Regions from separate parts of the Homo sapiens genome. Here region 1 is linked to region 2. The links are contacts of gene promoters, found by promoter capture Hi-C in human tissues and cell types (Jung and others, 2019). All regions are on one chromosome and are shown on one strand. The core of a region is centred on a gene start or on the middle of the fragment in contact, and the rest is flanking DNA. Distances in the headings are between cores, read along the strand shown. Region 1 overlaps PPP3R1 (protein phosphatase 3 regulatory subunit B, alpha). Region 2 holds the start of CNRIP1 (cannabinoid receptor interacting protein 1).

What was found. Contacts are between HindIII fragments. The study calls those that stand out against the background at their distance.
Region 1: a fragment that was not itself captured here is called in contact with the fragment with the promoter of CNRIP1 in region 2 in 2 of the 25 tissues and cell types used here (hippocampus and psoas muscle).

Annotation. Positions count from the first base shown.
Region 1 is chr2:68,234,553-68,237,647 of GRCh38, reverse strand. The region is part of intron 1 of PPP3R1 (protein phosphatase 3 regulatory subunit B, alpha); the gene reads left to right. Among named protein-coding and RNA genes, the nearest start is that of PPP3R1-AS1, 16 kb to the left of the region's middle. The HindIII fragment of the contact is 7,084 bases long and covers 1-3,095 here.
Region 2 is chr2:68,318,135-68,321,207 of GRCh38, reverse strand. It overlaps CNRIP1 (cannabinoid receptor interacting protein 1), which reads left to right and starts at 1,259. Exons shown (of 3, transcript NM_015463.3): 1 at 1,259-1,986. The coding sequence starts at 1,808. The HindIII fragment of the contact is 12,504 bases long and covers 1-3,073 here.

The DNA.
Region 1 (3,095 bases), core at 120-2,619, 84 kb after region 2:
GATTTCTTCTGGCTACTCTGCTTGTCCAGTTTGAACTTAACATGTAGCAGCTGTTTTGGTATTTTATTATTCATTCTCGTCACATTACTCATAGAGTTGTATAATGTCAAGTAATTGTTCAAGTGCTGAAAGAATACTATAATTTTTTTGTTGATTACATTGCTTATCAGTAAATTTAATTTGATATTATGAGAAGTAACATGATATGGTAGAGCAAGATTGGGCTATGGAATTGGAAGGCCTGTTTTGGAGTACTCTAAATTAAAAAAAAGTTATATTTGTAAAATAACCACCACAAGATTGCCTGATTCACAGTTCTTCTGAGTATTGGCGTAGGTAATTATTTAAGATGTTTGATAAATTGTAAAATGCTTTTTACATTTTTTAAGGAATCAATTGAACTACTGGAAACCAGTATGTAGTATTCTTGGCAGGTCTAGGTTTCATAATCCTAATTTCTTTGCAGCCCACTATTCAGAAATGTAGTGATTAACAGAGTCAAGAATGTTTCAGGATATTTTTGGCTACAAGTAACAATACCTAACTAAAAGTGACTTAAATAATAAGCAGTTTGTTATTTCACAGAATGAGAAGCTCAGAGCCAGAGAGTTACAGGGTTGGTTCAGCAGTTCAGTTTCATCAAGAACATAAGACTTGCTTACTTTAAAGCTCCTCTGCATGTCAGCAGAGGGCTGCCCCAATTTTAGATACCAACATCTGGCCAAAGAAGAGCAGGGAATGCTTCTTTAAGTACTTATTAGGGAGCAAAACTTCCTTAAAAGTCTCATAGGAGGTTTTTCCTTAGGTCTCATTGTATCTCAATGGCTCTTGCATACTAGAAAAAGGCCACATTCCTTACTCTGGCATTTAAGTTTTTATAACCTGGCCCTAGGTTACTTTCCATCACCAGAGTCTAGGCCATATGATAGTAAAAACAACCTCATCAGTATTTTATTAGGTACTCTGAATAATGGTCCCAGATTACTGATGGGATCTTAAATAGTAAAAGCTGTATCTGGCTTCTGATGTTATACTGACCTCTTCCCTCACCAGTACATAGCTATCCCCTCATGTTGTCATTCTCCTCACCAAAAATTTTGTCTAGTTACTGTAACCAAAATTCTACTTCCTCTCTGAAGGTTATCGTCTCCCCGAAGCTCTTTCAAGCGGAGCATAGCTGTTCATTTTAGGTTAGGGGTAATTAGGAGTTGTTGGCATTGTTTTAGATCATGAGTTGGAAAACTCTTTCTGCAAAGGACCAGATAATAAATATTTGAGGCTTGGGAGCCATACAGTCTGTTGCACCATTTCAACTCTGCCATTGTAGTGTGAAGCAGCTATAGACAGTACATAAATGAATGAGTGTGGCAGTATGCCAATAAAACTTTACAAACGCATGTTCACATAGTTTCTTAATATATATGATACCAAAACCACAAGCAATGAAAGAAAAAAAAGGTAAATTGTATATCATCAAAATTAACAAATCTAAGCTTCAAAAGACAAGAAAATAAGACAATTCTCAGAAAGGGGGAGTTTCTCAAAATCGTTATCTGATAAGAAATTTCTATTCAGGATATATAAACAATTCTTATAACTCAGCAATAAAAAGACAACTCAATTTAAAAGTGGGCAAAGGTTCTGAGTAGGTATTTCTCCAGAGAAGATATGAAGATGTCAGTAGTGCATGCAAAGATGCTCAACATCATTAGTCATTAGAGAATTGCAAATCAAAATGTCGAGATAGCACTTCACACCCACTAGGATTGTTATAATCAAAAAAGACTGATAAGTATTGTCAAGGATGTGGAGAAACTGGAACCCTCAAACCTTGCTGGTGGGAATGTAAATGTTTATAACTGCATTAGAAAATAATTCCTCAAAATGTCAAACATAGAGTTACCATATGACCTAGTAATTCCATTCCTGGGTATATACCTAAAAGAAATGAAACATGTGAAATGAAGTGAAAAACTTGGACATGAATGTTCATAATAACATTATTCATAATGGCCAAAAATGGAAACAGTCCAAATGTTTATTAACTGATGAATCGATAAATATGGTATGTTCATACGAATGAAATGTTCATTAGTAAAAAGAAGTGTGTTGATACTTGTTACAACACATTAGATTAACCTTGAAAATACTCGACTAAGTAGCCAGTCATACAGGATCATATATTGTATAATTTCATTTGTATTTAATATCCAGAATAGGCAAATATGTAGAGCCAGAAAGTAGATTTGTGATTACTTAGGGCTGGCCTGAGGGGGAGTTGGGGAATGACTGCCAGTAGATACAGGCTTTTGTGGGTAATAAATATGCTCTAAATTTGATTGTGGTGATGGCTGCACAATGGTTTGAATGTACTAAAACCATTGAGTTGTATACTTTAGATGGATGGTTTGTGTGGTATATAAATTATATTTCAATAAAGCGGTAATAAAACAAAACAGGTGGTAGGCTTATTGACCAGCAAGCCAAAGCTTGCTGACCCATAATAGATTATTCTTCATTTTCCTGCTAAGCCATTCTTTATCTGTTCTCATTGCTAACTCAAATCTTTCTCGTTACTCAATTTTTCATTCAAAATTTAAGTACTTGTCTCACATTTTCCCTCTGTGTTCCACCATCAGGTTACATCTTTATGGACATTCTAGCCTTAGTGTTTGTTGACCACCTCCATTTTACTAACCTTTAGTTTTCTCTCTACTTCAGCTATTTCCTATGGCCATAGTCAATATGGTATCTTATCATTATCTGAACTGTCCCATTGCTAGGACTTTATTTCTTGTTTTGAGATTACTTTCTCAATTATAATTATTGAAAATGCCATACATATATCATTTTCTGGTTTTTGAGGGGGTTATTATATATGTTTTTAAATTAGAAAGTAGTACCAAATTATTGTTGCTACCTGCAGGAAGTTGTTGGAAAGTTTCCATGTAATAGTATTTCACGTTTTTCATCCATTTTACTCCTCAGCTGTCTTCACCTGACACCCTCTCACTGTCGTGTTTCTGCGATTGTGACTGCTGTTTTAGATATATGGAAGACATTTAAAATTGCTATGCCAGTGTGAGTTGGCAGTA
Region 2 (3,073 bases), core at 10-2,509:
TTAAAAGAGCTAATACAAACATACACATTTATATTCTTTTTAAATTTTCATTTTTCTAAAACACTAGAGATGCTACTTGCAATTAGATTTCTTTTCATCATTCCAGGTAAATCGCAAGGATCTAATTAATTTTAAAGATGTGAAAGAATTTACATATGGACATGATTAAGACCACAACCGTAAGTCAATTCAACAACGATTTCTGGAGCACCTACTATGTGTCAGGCACTATTTTGGCATGCTGGGGAAACAGCAACAAACAAAACAGACAAAATGCTCGCCCTCAGGCTTTGTTTCCCAGCCATCCCACTTTTATCATTAACAGTTTTTGCCTGTGTGTTTGCCAATGCAACCTATATTTCATTATTTTGATAGTTGTGTAACGTTCTATAGTGTGGGTATATAAGAATTTATTCAGCCATTTATTTATTGGTTAACATTTCATTTAGGTTTTATTTTTATTTTTGCAACCAATGTTGCAATAAACACCCATATTACATATATATTATATGTATAGCTTATTATTTCTTAAAAAAGAGCAGTCTAACTTGGGTAAACAAAAACTGCCAAGGAAACGCATCCCTACCCATTTGTTCTCACTAGCCCACTTCATTTCCCAGGTGTGCTCCCTGGCTCTGGTACTATCCATCTGGGTGGTGCTGAAGCAGGTGCTCTCTCTGCTCCGGGAAGCCATTCCCAGTATAGTCCTCACCCCCTGAGTCTCCCCTCGCTTCCAAAAGTCAGCTGTCTACCGACCTCTGCCACGAAAACTGTCTAATCACGCTTAATATGCAAATCTAAACTCTGCGGTGTCGCATATGGCCCCCTGCCAATAATCCTTTGACCCATCCCACCTCTTGGCCATTTTGTCACCAGAATGCCTTAGGCTCATGTCAGTTGCCTTTTACAGGGTTAATAGCTCACCCTTCAAAATCTGTGTAAATATATGTGATTCATTACATATATTTATGTATGTGTCATTTTTGGGACGAGCATACGTATAATGGAAATGTACACCCACAAGAAGATGTAGCTCCTTGAATATGGTTATTTTCTTCCTCTTGCATCCATTCCTCATCCAGCGTGGCTCCATCACGTGGAATTGCGCCTTTCCTCGGCCATTTCCCCTAAGCTTTGGAAAGACTCATATTTCCTGAAATTTAAATCACCGGCTAGCGGTTTCCTGTCCCCCCTTCCCGCCTCCCTTTACCCCCCCTCAGCCTCCTCCCGCCTGGCTGGCGCCGGATCCGCGAGCAGCAGTGTCCACCTCACGTAGCTGGCCGAGGCGGTATCCAGATTCCGGGGGTCTCGCTCCTTGGCATAGTGGTCGCTTAACTCCAGCGCCTTCCCAGTGCCTCCCAAACCTCTCCTCCTCCTGCCCGGGGCTGTTCTAGGAGGAGCCTAAATGTCCGCTTCCCCAGCTGAAGGGGATTGTGGTGCGTAAACAGGATTAACTCCCTCGCCCCCAGCTGCGCGGATCTGCGCGGCGGCCTGCGGGCCAGAGCGAGCCTTCGGGTGCGTGGAGGGCGCAGCACTGGAGCGGGGGATGGGGAAGCGCGCGGCCTTGGAGCCGTCTCTTGGGCCCGCTTCCTCGCCGAGTGGGGAGGGGGGCCACAGCCTAAGGAGCTGCTCCTCAAAAGCCCGGGCGGACGGCGGCGACGGCGCGGGTTCCTAGCGGCAGCCTCAGCTCCACCACCTCCCTCACCCTCCCCGCGCTTCCTCTCCGCCCCTCGCGCTCCAGCCACTCGGCCGCAGCCGGCGCTGTCCTCCGCCCCCCGGAGCCGCCGCGCCAGACCCTCGCCCAGACATGGGGGACCTGCCGGGCCTCGTGCGCCTCTCCATCGCGCTGCGCATCCAGCCTAATGACGGCCCGGTCTTTTACAAGGTGGACGGGCAGCGCTTCGGCCAGAACCGCACCATCAAGCTGCTCACCGGCTCCTCCTACAAGGTTGAGGTGAAGATTAAACCCAGCACGCTGCAGGTCGAGTGAGTGCGGGGCGCCTGGTGGCAGCAGGGTCCCCCATGGGGTACAGGCAGAGGACTGAGGCCCCCAGGACAGCCCGAGCCTCTCAAGGGCCTCTGGCCTCGCGCCGCTCCCAGCGGGCCCGGGGGTTGGAGGAAGAGGTCACTCCCTGTCCGCCTTCGTCCCCTTCCTTCCCTTTGGCTTGTATTCCTCCATTCTCGCTTCCCTCCACCCATCGCAGTGACCTCAGTGGGTTCTTTAAAATCAGTGACAAGAAGCCAGGGTTTTTGCTTGTCTGTTTCTTATAAATTTCTCCTGCCTTCTGTCCAGCCTTGGGCGCGGAACCGCAGGCGGTCGGGGTGGAGCAGATGGGAGAGGTCCGCAGGGTTCAGCCACCGCAATCCCAGCCCTCCTGCGCGCGGTCCAGGCGGCCCACAGGGTCTGCCCGCAAGGCTGAAGGAGGGAGAAAGGAGGAATGAGGTGGAAAGGCAGGGGAGGGGTGATTACTGGGGCTCCCTGAGGGATGCTCCCCACTCCCTTCGCCATTCAGTGGCTGGGACCCTGGGGTGGAGCAGCAGACACTAGTAAGAGAGCGGCCGCCCCTTCTCTGGCCTAGTTTCACGGTTTTCCATGCCGTATGCTGTTCTTTTTCTCCTGAGTTTTCTGTTCAGGCTGGTGATGGTGCCTGGGATTAGCAACATCCCCACAGCAAGAGGATGTTTTTTGGTTTATCCATGGCAGGGACGATTTCTTGCCAGCGACCGCTGGATAATGCACCCAGTAGACCTCTGGCGGGAAAGTGTGTGGGAGCATGCAGTAGCCTACCCGGAAGAACTGCGGGTGGAGCCCCTTTACCTCTCGTTTCTACCTACCAAAGTCTAGTCTGCAGAGAGAAAATAAACCAGCATTTATTGTATCTACTACATATGGTGGGCATTATTGCGGGGGTGGAAGGACTTTGAATTCATCAGATACTACTTATAGCTTACGTTTTAATTCAGTAAACTTGTATTAGCCTTCCAAGGTGCAAGGACCTAGAACCAAATCTGGATGGTTTCTGGTACTCCTGATTCATCTATTTGTCAGCATCCCCCACAGCTCCATGCACCC